Regions from separate parts of the Homo sapiens genome. Here all the other regions are linked to region 3. Evidence: promoter capture Hi-C in human tissues and cell types (Jung and others, 2019). All regions are on one chromosome and are shown on one strand. The core of a region is centred on a gene start or on the middle of the fragment in contact, and the rest is flanking DNA. Distances in the headings are between cores, read along the strand shown.

Region 1 (2,700 bases), core at 48-2,547, 140 kb after region 3:
TATTCAGTAAGAGCACATTTCTGTTTATGCCCACAAATTTACATAGGGAGGAGATGGCCACTCGGGCTCACGACCTGTTGTGTCTTTATGGGTTACAGTTACTGTAACTTCGCTGATGACATAGGCTATGATGCTTGACCAAGGCCAAATAGGAGCAAAGGAAAATAAGGTGTCTTAGGGAACCGATTGTAAGAACTGGAAAAGAATAAATTTGTTAATGAATTATCTGCCACAAAAGCTGGATGGAGAAGAAATGTTAGTTTGATATATGCAAAACAACTGACACCACAATCCCTTCTAGTCCAACCATCCTACTGGCAGGGTGTGTACTGGGGAAATGAACATCAAGTGAATTCAAAGAATTTGACTAAATGAACACTGGGAGCTATTCTGCAACACGGAGCCCTCTTGATTAAACGGAACCACAGGAAGGAAAATTTCTCTTCTAGACACCATTGTGGCACAGCAGAAACTCTGGATCATAGTACGTAGAGTTACAAGACACAGTTATCGTTTGTGACTCAGGTTGGCCCATCTATTCTGCCTAAAATAGTTTTCAGAGGAGGTGACATCAAGACTTTTTTTGTGGCAATTATAGCAAGTTCTGAAATTTTGAATGATAAACTTATGTGGAAAAAAATTTTTAAACTGTGCTTATTACTGGGAAAATTAAATTTTATTTTTTTAAATTACACAACACAGAAGAAAATCATTAGTAATCAGTATTTTACATTTAATGAAAAGGCATTAGCAGAAACTAAAAAGTTAATTTTTACTGGAATTGAGAAGAAATGAAACCTAATACCTTAGTCATTAATCAAGAATAAATTGGGAGAGTCCAAAAGTGTTACTCTGACTTTTTAGTTCAATCTCAGTGGCTTTGAATATTTACTTTCAATGAAGACAAGCCAGTTCATGGATATAAAAGGAGTTTATTAAACAAATGTCACTTTAATTTGTTCCTGGAATATATTATGTGAGCTTCTGGTGGCTGATTCATCCTGCTTATTATGTTTTATTCATGCTAAAATTAAGAAGAGTTTCATTTTATAGGACACTAAAGGTTGGTAGTTGGGGGAACCGTAATGCGTAGCAGGTGGCAGGGAAAGCCGGTGAAGAATTAAGAAAGAGGCACTTAATGTTTAATGAAAACCAAAACTGTTGATAATTATAAAAGGACTCGGTCATATTTAAAAATGTATATTTCACTTAAAAACATTTCCTCAATTAATTTATTATGACCTTTAAACTTTGGTTCCAGGTTAAATGATCAGCTCTCACCTGGGTACACTCAGCATAACCTCTATACTTGATGAGTAAAATGCTCCTATTAAATGTCATTCTCACTCTATAAACATCTTTCGAAATAATTCTTTATTTATATAACTCTCCACCCATCAACTCTTAAGAATGTCTTATTCATCTTTCTATCTACAGTGTAAATACGCAAAGACTGTATACGCAAACAGTAACTTAAAAGTCTACAGTTCAGAGTTGTACTTTGTAACTTAATGTATTGCCACATAGAACCCAATTTTTAATATGCTCATCAGTTTTGCCTCCTCACTGTTAGAATTCAGAATTTATTATTTTGTGAATAACAAAGTGTGTCCTGGCTTTAACAACCTTGAAATTTTTGAACCATGTCGAGTGGTACCTGGAGCAGAAACAACTATTTAACAGCCATATATTATTTCAGTTTAGCAAGAGGTGGACACAAATTCAAATGTAAGAAATAGCATTCCTTGGTTTTATGAAAAGTGCAAAAAAATCAATCGTTTCTTTACATATATGTGAAGCAAATATGACCCACTATCTTGAGAGAAACTAGAATATCCTGATTGCGGATACTTTAATCCAAAAATCCAGCTGTGAAGGAAATTCAAATTGCTGTTCAATTGTTTTAAAAGAGTTATGGTTCTATAGATACTGCAACTTCTTTGGGGAAAGTGTTTGTGTTCTCATGTGGTAGTAGATATGATGAACTATGGGTGGTTCTCAAGCACTTGTAAAGTACGGTCATTAGTTAGAAATAAGGAATGAGGAGAAAGAGCACTGGAGACAAGACATATAGCATTGATCGTCCTTCTCAGGTAGAGAGATTGTAAGAAAATGAACCCCAGCATGGCAAAGTTCCACCAGGCCTGGATGTTTGATGTACTAGACATGGTCTCATTAAATGAGTATGATTTCACAGGTTTGTGGCCTTGCCAGTTGGGATATGGTTGTAGTGTGTAGAGTAAGATTTACCTTAAAGACAGATCATATTTTCTTCTTTAAATCATTTTAAGAAAAGACTGATCCCCAGAAAGGAGATGAGAATCAGGGAGGAAGGACTTTGACGAGCAGAAAAACAGGTTTTCAACTTTGTTTAGCCTCAAATGGTAGTGCCCCAAGAATTTCAAACCCTTTAATTAGTAAAGTTAATCTCAACCCTGCCAGATGAAGTAGTATTTTAATTCAGCATAGCAACTTCTTAGTAAACATCCACTCACTTCATTTACTGAGTAAAATGGTCCTATTAAATACACTCTTACAGCAATATGTACCTGGATTCTAAGCTTTGTTCTCAACTAAGTTCAAATGATTGCTTAGTATCTGGGTCCCCAATTAGACTGTAGATACTTTTCAAAGAAAACACTAAAACCAGAAATACTTTTTAAAAATAACCATAGCTACTTAATTAATGTGTTAATCTCT
Region 2 (2,777 bases), core at 237-2,736, 220 kb after region 3:
GGGAAATATTTCAATTCCGTAAACGATAATTATGGCATCCTTAATCTTTTTAGCCATCTATTTATATTCAATTTACTTGTTGGAGGCAGTGAATGAGAAATATTTGTGTCACTTACCTCACAATAGGTCCTAAAAGAAGAATGTGCCAAAAAAGTAATGCAGCCTTATTTCTCCTCAAGTCTTTGTTGAAAAACATCAGGATAATTTGATCCAAAATTGCCCCCACAATAATAAAGCTGATGGTAAATGACATCCAGAATGTGTCATTAGCTTTTCGATAAATTTCAAACATGTATAAACCAAAGGCAACCTCACCACAGTAGAGAACAGTTGAGAAGATAATGCTAAAAGGAAAGCTTAGATGGAGTCTCTGGCCAAGGACTATTTCTTCTTTCGAAGATGAAACTCCTCCTGTGCTTTCTTCATCCATCTCTTCAAACACTGTCTCCATTCTCAGGGTGCTGCTAATTCAAAGTCGTCTTGTCAGTGAATCCAGTAGAGTTCAGTATTAAATTTAAACAGAAGTAAACAAGATTCTCTATAATTCACTATTCATAGAAAATGTTAACAGGTAGATATGGATCACTAATCAGAATAGAAAAATCCATGTCTGGTTTAGGGAATATTGAACTATGATGTCTAATTTGACATACTATTTCTTCAGAAAACATTGTTTTAAAGAAGTAGACGATCAAACTTCTATAAGGCATCAACTACCTCTTAGCACTGAGATGATAGTCCTATCTCCAAGTAGTATGAAAGAAATGTTCATTACTCATAAGTTTTCTTTTTGTGCTTTTCAGCCAATGTCTGCAGCTGACATCCACTAAAATAAAACGGCACAATCTAAGCCAAGTCTAACCATGATGACACTAAGAAAACTATCCCCAGATATTCCTGATTAGTAAAGGAATACAGAATAGTGAGGCCTTTAAGTTCCACTTATTGCTAGATGTTGGTTATTTGCATTTAAAATACTGTTTCTTGACTGAACTTAACTCTATGAAGTTATTAATCTAGTAAAGTTTCAATTTAAATAGATGTAAAATCCAGACTGCATGGCAATAGTAGGTTTAAACTCTCTTTTGTTGGGGGGAAAAACAGCTCATTTTAGGTTCTCTGTAGACAAACCGCCAGAAAAATTACTGACATACTGTGAACATCAATTAGTCACTATGTGTGGGAAGCAATATAAAACAAAATGAATAAGAAGGAAAATAAAAGGCAACAGTACTTTTAAATCAAGTAAATATTAAAATGAAATTGTTTTAGAGAAATATTTTTCTGACTAAAAATGCTGTTAATATATTGAAAGCACAAAAAATGAGTAAGCATCTAATGCAAATTTCCAGAAAGAAAGATAATATTTCCCCAGAAGACGTTGGTGGTTTTTAAAAACATATTAATGGGAAAAGTAAAAGTAGTAGTTAAAAAAAGTGGGAGGGAAGAAGCAGGAAGTTATCTATTTTATTTGACAAGTTGTTCATTTCTTGAACTGTCTTTGCATTGCTTTGTCATAATTTATCATAAATATTCCTCAAATTCTTTAAATTTTATGCTGCAGAATATTAAATTCCTCAACTTCTTTTGTTTTTCTGATCTAAATCACACCTTTATCTATATGCACTTATTTATTCAAAGACAAAACCTTCATCCCATTTTAAAATATGTCCTCCTGGACCCAATCCATCAATATGATTGATCTTTTTCTCTTTTGTGTAATTTATTTTATTCTCCTCTTCGGTGCTCTGATTTCCTTATCACACGTGTATTAAAAAAACCATATTTTACAATTCAAAACAAAAACTGTCTCTCATGGTGCTGAACTTTTTCTCTGCTTTTAATTGCCACAGAGAATTTCTATTAGTTATTTCCTTTCCATCACTTCTTATTATTTCTCAGGTTTTATCCCACAACAGTGAAGTCACAGTGGTTTCTCAAAAGTCATCAGTGACACCCTAATTGCTAAATGTAATATGTTACCTTAAACTTCAGTTGAATATTTTTGCCATTGATAATATGCTCTCATTTGAACATTCCACTTACCTTAACCAGTCAGGCTTTCATCCCCAACGGTCCACCAAAAGTACTATATTTAACTTTCTTTTTGCCAAATATAATAGTTTTTTTTTAAATTCCTATCATTGTTTATTGAGACACGGTCTGGTTCTGTTGTCCAGGCTGGAGTGTAGTGGTGCGATCAAGGACTCACTGCAGCCTCAACCTCCCAAGCTCAAGCGATCTTTCCACTTCCACCTTCCGGGTGATTGTGACTGCAGGCCACCAGGCCTAGCTAACTTTGGTATTTTTGTAGAGACAGGGTCTCTTCATATTGCCCAGGCTGGTCTCGAGCTCCTGGGCTCAAGCCTTCTGCCCGCCTCAGGCTCCCAAACTGCTGGCATTGGAGGTGCAAGCCACCACACCTGGCCAATTATAAAAGTTATTTTTTAGTCTCCCTCTTACTTGAATTATTCCTGATGCATTTACTCTCAATCTCCTGGTTATCTTTTCCTGTACAATGGATTTCTGAATGGTACTGAGTCCCATATTTATATCTCCAGCCAGTCTCTTACCAATGCCCCAAACTTATAGGAGTCTGTTGTACATATTCGAGTTTAATAGGCAATTTGAACTCAAGGCTACAGACTGAATTCTGATCCACTTTCCAAACAACTTTCCCCATATGTTTCCCATTTCACCTGATAATAATTACGTCCTGCTGCTAAGGCACATAAGGTCATCCTTAATGCTTTTCTTTTCATTGCATCATTTCTATT
Region 3 (2,834 bases), core at 9-2,508:
AGGTGTGTCCAACACCTCACTCAGGTAAATGATCTCCATCCAAGACCTAGCTTGAATCACCACGATGCCATACTTGTCCGCCAGTGTGAGGGTCTCCTCGTCGACCTCCCCCAACACCACTGCCACATTAATTCCTGCAGCTGCTAGCTGGCCTACTTGCTTTTCTAGTAATTGATCGCTTCCTTTACTAAATTGAGCTAGATCAGCAGGACTAGAAAGACGGGCCGTTGCTGGTGCATTTGGATGGGCAGGACCAAAGGGGCAAGCAAAGAGAGCCACCCTGGCACCACTTAACACTGTGGCCATTTGCCCACAGAGCTTCCCAGATATTGCTAACCCCGGGAGGAGGCAGGAATCCTCCAGTGTCCCCCCGGGCAGCGCGCACACCCCAACACGCTCAGGCTTGAAGCTGCCGTCTAGTTCCTTGATAGCCCAGCAGGCGTGGGCCACCAGCTTGGTCAAGTGGTCCATGGGGGACAGGGTGTGGGTATTCATCACAGAATGGAGGGCCCAGGATGGATCTTCCAAAGGCCCCAGAGATTGGATGGCCAGGGAGGGCAGTGTGGCCAGGACCTCTGCAGTGGCCGTGGCGTAGGCCTCCCGGAGCTGCGGGCGAGGCAGGCCAGCCTTCAGCAGCTGCTCTGCCTGTTCCAGCAAGGCTTCCGTCAGCAGAACCACGAAGGCTGTGCCGTCCCCACTATTCTCTGCCTGGGTTTGTCCTGCTTCCCGGAGGAGCCATGCTGCTGGGTGCTCCAGCTCCAGGGCCCTGAGGATGGCAGTGGCACACCCCGTGCACACTGTTTCTCCTTTCATGGTCACCAGGAACTTCTGCCGGCCGTGGGGGCCATAGCAAGGCCGGATGACACTGGCCAGGGTCTGGACTGCAGCCAAGCTGCTCAGCAGGTGGGGCTCCTCCTCTTCTGGACTCCTCGGGCTCTCCCTTGGGTTCAGTGCCAGCCGCTGGGGCAGCTCCAGGGCTGAAGGGACTGTGCTGTCCATGGCCCGCAGAGAGAGGAGAGGCCACCGTGGGTTGCAGAGATGCTCTAGAAACAGCAGCTGGGGCACTCCTGACACCGATCGTTGAAAGTACTCAAGAGGTCAGTGGAAGCAAGGAGCCAAATGCCCATTGATTGGTATCTGAAGACATCAGCACGGACCAGCACTCCACTGTGGGTCCAAGGATGAGCTCCAAAGAGCCCAGTCCTAAAGCCACCCCAGGGTTGATTCTGTAAAGGAACTGGGTCTTGGGGCCTCTCAACCTTGGTGGCTGAAATGGGATCTTTAACTGATGAAGTCACAAAGTGGAAAATGGAACCAGGATAGAGAATGAGGTCACAGAAGGCTGGTTAGAACTGAGGAGGCCCTACCAGCAGGCAAAAGTCAGGCCTTGTCCAGCAATGGAGGTACATGCACCTCTGCACCAGGTTTGAGACTTGTTTAAACGTAAGAGACAATGAGGAGGAGATCAAGTGAAAAACTACCCATTTCACCCTATCTGGAGTGCAGGGGCATAACCATGGTTCACTGCAGGCCCAGCTCCCTGGTCTCAAGCAGTCCTCCTGCTCAGGTTCCCAAGTACCTGGGACTACAGGCACACACCACCACACCTAGCTAGTTTTTTTATTTTTTGTAGAGACAGTGTTTCTGTCTGTTGTCCAGGCAGGTCTCGAATTCCTAGCCTCAAGAGAGCCTTCCACCTTGGCCTCCCAAAGTGCTAGGACTACAGGTGTGAGCCACCACCTCACCCACCCTTTTTTTTTTTTTTTTTTTGAGACAGAGTCACACTCTGTTGCCCAGGCTGGAGTGCAGTGGTACAATCTTAGCTCACTGCAACCTCCACCTCCCAGGTTCAAGCAGTTCTCCTGCCTCAGCCTCTCAGTAGCTGGGATTACAGGTGCCAGCCACCACGCCCGGCTAATTTTTTATATTTTTAGTAGAGATAGGGGGATTTCACCATGTTGGCCATGGTTGGCCAGGTTAGTCTCAAACTCCTGGCCTCAAGTGATCCGCCCACCTCGGCCTCCAAAAGTGCTGGGATTACAGGTGTGAGCCACTGCACCTGGCCTTTTTTTTTTATTTGAGAAGGAACTGAGAGATGATGTCTGTGTTTTGTTTTGTTTTGGTGTTACTTTCTCTTGCAGTACTGTGTAATATTAGCCATGTTTTGCTGTCTGCCTTTGACTTTTTGGGTATCTTATCAGTTTGTGCTTGTGTATCAGGTTTCTTAGGGTGTCTGTTGGTCTTTCAGGGTGCAGGTGTGGGAGGCTGCACAGCGTGCATGCCTGTGCCACGACTCCCAACTCTGCCTCCCTGGCAGAGGCAGGGCAAGACAAGTGGGGAAGGATGCTGACAGCTCACAGACAAATAGAAGTGAACCCAGAGGGGTGAAAAGCAACCAGCCTCCCAGCGGTCAGGGAGGTAGAAGCCTAAATGGGGTCCTGAGATTTAAATGCGAATCGCCTTCCCATCCTAACCTTCAATGCTTACAATTTAAGTCTCTTTTTTTCATTCTCTCTCCTTTCCTCACTTGTCTCCTCTTTCCTCCTATAGAGCCTACTCGGGTAATGATGCTTCTGCTTTAGTTTAACACATATTTAGTCTGGGCGTGGTGGCTCATGCATGTAATCCCTGCACGTTGGGAGGCTGAGGCGGGAGGATTGCTTAAGCTCAGGAGGTTGAGGCTTCAGTGAGCCATGATTGCACCACTGCATTCCAGCTAGGGCAACAGAGTGAGACTTGTCTCAAAAAAAATAGGGGAAAGGTCATTTGGAATCCTAGTCCAGAGATAACCATTGTTTACAACTTGATGAACATTACTACTTTGCACATATTAT
Region 4 (2,836 bases), core at 103-2,602, 200 kb after region 3:
TAGCATGCCACACTCATGCCACTGCACTAACCCTAGGCAATACAGTGAGACCTCATCTGTAAAAATACATTTTTAAAAACGTTTAAAAATAAATATGTAATGAAAACCCTAAACTGTCAAACCTAATAAAACACAGGGCAAACTTAATGACCTTGGTCTGGGCAAGGATTTTTTTTTTTTTTTTGGATAAGACCTCAAAACCACAAGCAACAAAACCACCAACAGACAAATGAGGTTTCATCCTACTAGAAAGCTTCCACGCAGAAAAAAAAAAAAAAAATCAGAGTGATAGAATGAGAGCAAATATTTGCAAATTATACATCAGACAAGGGGTTAATTAAAATATACAAGGAACTTAAAAATATTCAAAAGCAAAACAAACAAATACCACGTGTTCTCACTTATAACTGGGAACTAAATTATGATTACACATGGACAAATAGAGGGAAACAACACGCACTGTGGCCCATTAGAGGCTACAGAGTGGGAGGAAGGAGAACATCAGTGAAAACAACTAATGGACACTAGGCTTAATACCTGGGTGATGAAATAATTTGTACAACAAACCCCTATCATACAAGTTTACTTATATAACAAACCTGCATATGTAGCCCTAAAACTAAAATAGAAGTTAAATTTTAAAAATTAGAAAGAAAAAAATAAACAATTCTCCGTAAAGAAAATAGGTCTCTTAATAGGCCTTTCTCAAAAGGCATTTTTCAAAAGAAGACATGTAAATCAAAACCTGTATGAGACTTCACCTCATCCTGGTTGGAACAGCCATTATTTAAAGAATAAAAAGAAAAAAGAAACGTTGAAAAAAAAAAAAGAATATGGAGGAACGAAAACTCTTGCACATTATGGGTGATAATGCAAATCACTAAACCCATTTTACTCCATGAACAGTTTGGAGCTTCCTCAAAAATTAGAAATTAGTACTAATGCATTATCCAGAAATTCCACTTTTGAGAATGTATCAAAAGGAATTGAATCCAGTATGTTGAAGAGATATATACACTCTCATGTTTATTTCAGCATTATTCACAGTAGCCAAGATATAGAATCACCTCAAGTGTCCATCAGTGAATGAATACATAAAGAAAATGTGGTACATATACACAATGGAAGAGTATTCAGCTATAAAAAAGAATGAAATTCTCATCTGCAGCAACAGGGATGAACCTGGAAGACATTACGTTGAGTGAAAAAAAATGGTCTCACTTTTATGAGAAAACTTAAAAAAAAAAAGACTCTGTGGATATAGAGAGTGAAACAATGGTTACCAGAGACTAGAGTGGTTATAGGAAAAGAAAGAATGAGGAGAATTTTATCAAAAGATTTATAATTACAGTCAGATAGGAGTAATAAATTTAAAGAGATCTATTGTATAGCAGGGTCACTACAGTTAGTGAAGGTATATTGTTGAAATATGTACACAGAATGGATATTAATTGCTCTTACCAAAATAAAAAAAAAAACAGATAACTACGTGAGAAAATGCATTTGTTAATTCTCTGGATTTAACTATTCCATGTTATATATATACTTCAAACATCATCTTGTACACAATAAAAACATACAATGTAACCTGTCGATGTAAAAAAAAAATAGAGAAAGAAAGGAGGCAGGGGGGAGAGAGAGAGGGAGAGAGGGAGAAAGAGGGAGAGAGAGGGAGAGAGAGGGAGAGAGGGAGAGAGAGGGAGAGAGAGAGAGAGAGAGAGAGAGAGAGAGAGAAAGAGAGAGAGAGAGAGAGAGACTGACTCTGAGACTAAAGGGGAAAAACAGCCACACCATAAAATTGTATTACACTGACCACTGGTACCATTTTCTTTTTGTTTTTTTTTTTTGTTTGTTTTTTGCTTTTGTTGTTGTTGTTGGAGGGGATGGAGGTTTGCTCTTGTTCCCCAGGCTGGAGTGCAATGGCACTATCTCGGCTCATTGCATCCTCCGTCTGCTGGGTTCAAGCCATTCTCTTGCCTCAGCCTACCGAATAGTTGAGATTACAGGTACCCGCTACCATGTCCAGCTAATTATTGTATTTTTAGTAGAGACAGACAGGACTTCACCATGTTGGCCAAGCTAGTCTTGAAACCCTAACCTCATGTGATCCACCCACCTTGGCCTCCTAAAATGCTAGGATTACAGGTGTGAGCCACCATGCCCGGCCTACACTGACACAATTTTCATATGTTTATAAATAGGTGTCCGTCTACATTTTGTCAGTTAATAGAAAGCAAATAATTATGAACCTTGTTAAAAAAATTAGTGGTAATAGGAAAAGTGAACACACAAATACACGCAGTCTACAGATCTGTGCGTACAATGAAAACTGCATCTAATGCCATGAAGCTAGTAGAACTTATTTGTAAAAAAATTTCCAACTATAGATCCTATCCCATGGGATATGGTTGTGGTTGTATAGTTATAGGTTTATTCAGCCATCATTTGTTTTACTGCTGAAGGTCTCATATAATTCAATAATTTTGGACACATGTAAACGTGTACCTAACTGCTTCTCATTTGGTTTGAATGCCCACTTGTCAAATATCTATTGATTTGGCAAACAACTTCTTAGTCTTAGTTTGTTGTTCACATATATGCTAAAAACTTCCCTTGTTACGAAAGAATTTCAAATGACATCTGATGTCAAATGACATCTTTGTAATAAAATACTGTATATTTCATGTCTTTTAGTGATGTTTTGTTCAAGTCTATATTTATCAACTCCGAAAATAAAAAATGATTACCTTCCTTTTACATGTTGCAACCAGCACTTCCCTCTTAAACGCCAAATAAAAATGTTTTGATTTTATTTTACCTTTGCAGATAATCAACA
Region 5 (2,898 bases), core at 160-2,659, 230 kb after region 3:
AAAAATTAAAAAACAAAACAAAACAACAACAACAACAAAATAATTTGTTGCTTGCAAATAGGCCCTAGAAGCAATATGAAACAGTCTTCAAATGAATAGATGAGAAAAATCGCATCTGACCTAATTAATTCAATGTCACAAAAAGAGAGACAATGTGTTATTTAAAGGGATGAGACAGAAAAAACACTCTTGTAAATAAAGAGAGAAGAGTACAATGAAGTACCCATTTCCACCTACGAGGAACGGGCATGTAAGAAAATACGGGAATCATGTGCAGATGATATAATTACTTATCTAGAGGCACCATAAAAATGTTTTTCCCCAAATAATGTCCATTAGGGATAAAATTTTAAGAAAGAAAGGATGTTACTTTTAAAGACAATTGTTAAATACCTAGTAAATAGAGTAAGTGAGTAAGAAAAGCAGAAAGAAAATAAGTTGCAGCTACCAGATACCCACAAAAAGAAAGAAAAGGGAAAAAGAAGGAATGGAGGGAGAGAGCACAAATGGAAAGAAAAAGGGTGGGAAGGAGGAGGGAGAGTAGAGAGAGAAATTACAGAAGTAGGCGAGGGGTATAAAGGAAAGCATGGAAAGACAACTGCAGAGACATCAGAGTTTCTGGGCCTCAGGATAGGGGAAAAATACATCCAACATTATAAGAAATATATCCCACTCTCTCCCCAGCAATCCATACATCGAATATGATATTAATGCAGATTGCACCTTTCTGGCTGCCCCAACCACTTCCTTCTCCTTTGGACTCACAGAAGGACCTCTATAATTTATTTCTGGAAAACACTTATGAAAATATGCACATATGAAAAGGGCCACAGAGTTTAGAAATGGGTCTTCCAGAGTCTAAAATTCAAGGTAGAAAGTGAAAGTGAAGTCACTGAACAATGGAATTTAGGCATGTGTTTGTGATTAAGTGAACTTGTTTCTTGTACTCACATAGCCAGTGCATCACTGCATCTGAATAACAAAAAATATGGTAGATTTCTGCCCCTTTGAGATTTCACTTAAATACGAAGCACTTTCTCCTTCTGATGTTTAAAAACATGCTGAAATTTGTAATATATTAGTAACAACCACTGTCCCACCCAAATGCTAAGCAGCTGCTTCTCTTCTCTGAAAATCAGAATCAAGAGAGGGAGTTTCTAGGCTCAAGACTCGGGAAAAGCCACCCCTGATATCCAGAGATTTATGTTAAGATCCCCAGCTGAGACAGGCAGAGGTCAAGGTAGGCTGAAGAAGCTGATCTGAGATGGTCGAGGGCTGCTCCTACTTACCTTGCCTATTTGCCACCCTCACAGTTTTGAAACTCGTTCAAAAAGTAAATGCTTTTGTTCACCTCTTTAACAGCACCATTTCTGGTCTCGTTTTCAACACTACGTCCTTTGCTTTGCAGGTAAAATTGCTTATTTTCTTGCCTTTTTATGACTAAAGTAGGCTTGCAGTTTGGAGTCAGGTGACTGCACTAGCTGAGTCATCTTCCCTTGAAAACACCAAGGCATTCTTCCTCCCTACAGAGTCACACATCTTAGTTCCCCAAAACGCTCAGCCACAATTTGACTTCGATTGTCCTACATTTAAGGTGATATTTTTCTGATTCTCCCATTAACTCCCTCTTCTCTTCGCACCCATGGCCCATCTTTTGCTGCTGTCTAGTAGCCATTCATCCCCTCCCATCACAAAAGAAGTCTGTACTTCCTTCAGACAGAGCAACAAGAAAATTCCCCAGAAAGCAAACAATTAAACAAATTTTAATTTTGCCTTTTTTAAATGAAAATTCTGTCAAAATTGATGAACCACATCTGGTAGGAGCACCTGTTTTATTTTCACAAAGAGTTTTCTGATCTGGACATTTTTGTTACTTACTGCTAATATGGAAAATTTTGAACTAAACAAAATACACCCCCAAAACTTAAACTATGTTAAACCAAGACAAGCTTCTAACAATGACACCTCTTTCCAGTATGAGAGAACTGCCTCCTACAGTATAAGAAATATCAAAATCATTATTTTTTTATTCCACACATATTCAACACTTAAAGCCAAGGCATTAGAATTTTAATATACCACCTCTCAAGCATGAACATATAAAAATTCTTACTGTAAATGGGGCATGATTATTTTTCAAAGAGAAGAAATATTTTATTCAATTCTAAGATTAATTCACAAATTTGACTCCTGTTTTATAATGATAACTTTACGTTGCAGGACACAGAGATTATTCCTTAAGAAATATTTTTTAAATAGATATTTGGCTCTTGGAACCAAATAATAAAATTTTCTGCTTAGACATACATACAAATTTACTTTACTTAAAACACTTTCTTGTTATTATTACATTTTTAAATCTCCCACTCTTTGGGATCTCCTTATAAGTAGGTCACTTGCTTTTAAAATCTTACATAATTAACATGTCAGATATTTACAGACATACCAAATGAAAGTATTATTTATTCTATGATATGAATAAAAAATGTTTTGAATAGATACATACATGAATAACTTTTTATTCTGAAATCTAATCAGTTTTATTCATATTTGATTTTATTTTAATTTTTTAAGGTATGTTTCACATAATACAAAATTACATTATTCAAAATTATATTATTAAAACATTTCTATCATCAAACAGGAAACCCCATTATCTACTTAACAGTTCTTTCTATTCCCCAGCCCCTGACAACCATTAACCTACCTTTTGTCTATATGGCCATGTCTTTTTACCATATATGTTTTACACTGCATCAGTTTTCAATCCAACATGCCAAGCTGAGAGAGTTTTTAAAATATTTATTTTTATTTTTTTGCACCGTCCAATTACCAGGCCCTATGCTCCTCGCACCAATCTAGTAAGACTGTGTGTGTCAAGGAGAAAATTATGTTTAT

The links. Contacts are between HindIII fragments. The study calls those that stand out against the background at their distance.
Region 1: a contact is called between a fragment that was not itself captured here and the fragment with the promoter of CCT8L2 in region 3, in 6 of the 25 tissues and cell types used here (IMR-90 fibroblasts, dorsolateral prefrontal cortex, heart right ventricle and 3 more).
Region 2: a fragment that was not itself captured here is called in contact with the fragment with the promoter of CCT8L2 in region 3 in 2 of the 25 tissues and cell types used here (dorsolateral prefrontal cortex and lymphoblastoid cells).
Region 4: a fragment that was not itself captured here is called in contact with the fragment with the promoter of CCT8L2 in region 3 in 5 of the 25 tissues and cell types used here (dorsolateral prefrontal cortex, heart left ventricle, lymphoblastoid cells and 2 more).
Region 5: a contact is called between the fragment with the promoter of XKR3 here and the fragment with the promoter of CCT8L2 in region 3, in 3 of the 25 tissues and cell types used here (adrenal gland, aorta and bladder).

Annotation. Positions count from the first base shown.
Region 1 is chr22:16,730,001-16,732,700 of GRCh38, forward strand. No RefSeq gene overlaps it. Among named protein-coding and RNA genes, the nearest start is that of LINC01665, 17 kb to the right of the region's middle. The HindIII fragment of the contact is 6,420 bases long and covers 1-2,700 here.
Region 2 is chr22:16,807,623-16,810,399 of GRCh38, forward strand. XKR3 (XK related 3) reads right to left here. Exons shown (of 4, transcript NM_001386955.1): 2 at 117-461. The coding sequence starts at 451. Among named protein-coding and RNA genes, the nearest start is that of XKR3, 16 kb to the right of the region's middle. The HindIII fragment of the contact is 8,401 bases long and covers 1-2,777 here.
Region 3 is chr22:16,591,552-16,594,385 of GRCh38, forward strand. It overlaps CCT8L2 (chaperonin containing TCP1 subunit 8 like 2), which reads right to left and starts at 1,259. Exons shown (of 1, transcript NM_014406.5): 1 at 1-1,259. The coding sequence starts at 999. The HindIII fragment of the contact is 16,456 bases long and covers 1-2,834 here.
Region 4 is chr22:16,790,079-16,792,914 of GRCh38, forward strand. All of the region lies in intron 3 of XKR3 (XK related 3), which reads right to left. Among named protein-coding and RNA genes, the nearest start is that of XKR3, 34 kb to the right of the region's middle. The HindIII fragment of the contact is 6,994 bases long and covers 1-2,836 here.
Region 5 is chr22:16,824,002-16,826,899 of GRCh38, forward strand. It overlaps XKR3 (XK related 3), which reads right to left and starts at 1,410. Exons shown (of 4, transcript NM_001386955.1): 1 at 1,290-1,410. The HindIII fragment of the contact is 14,808 bases long and covers 1-2,898 here.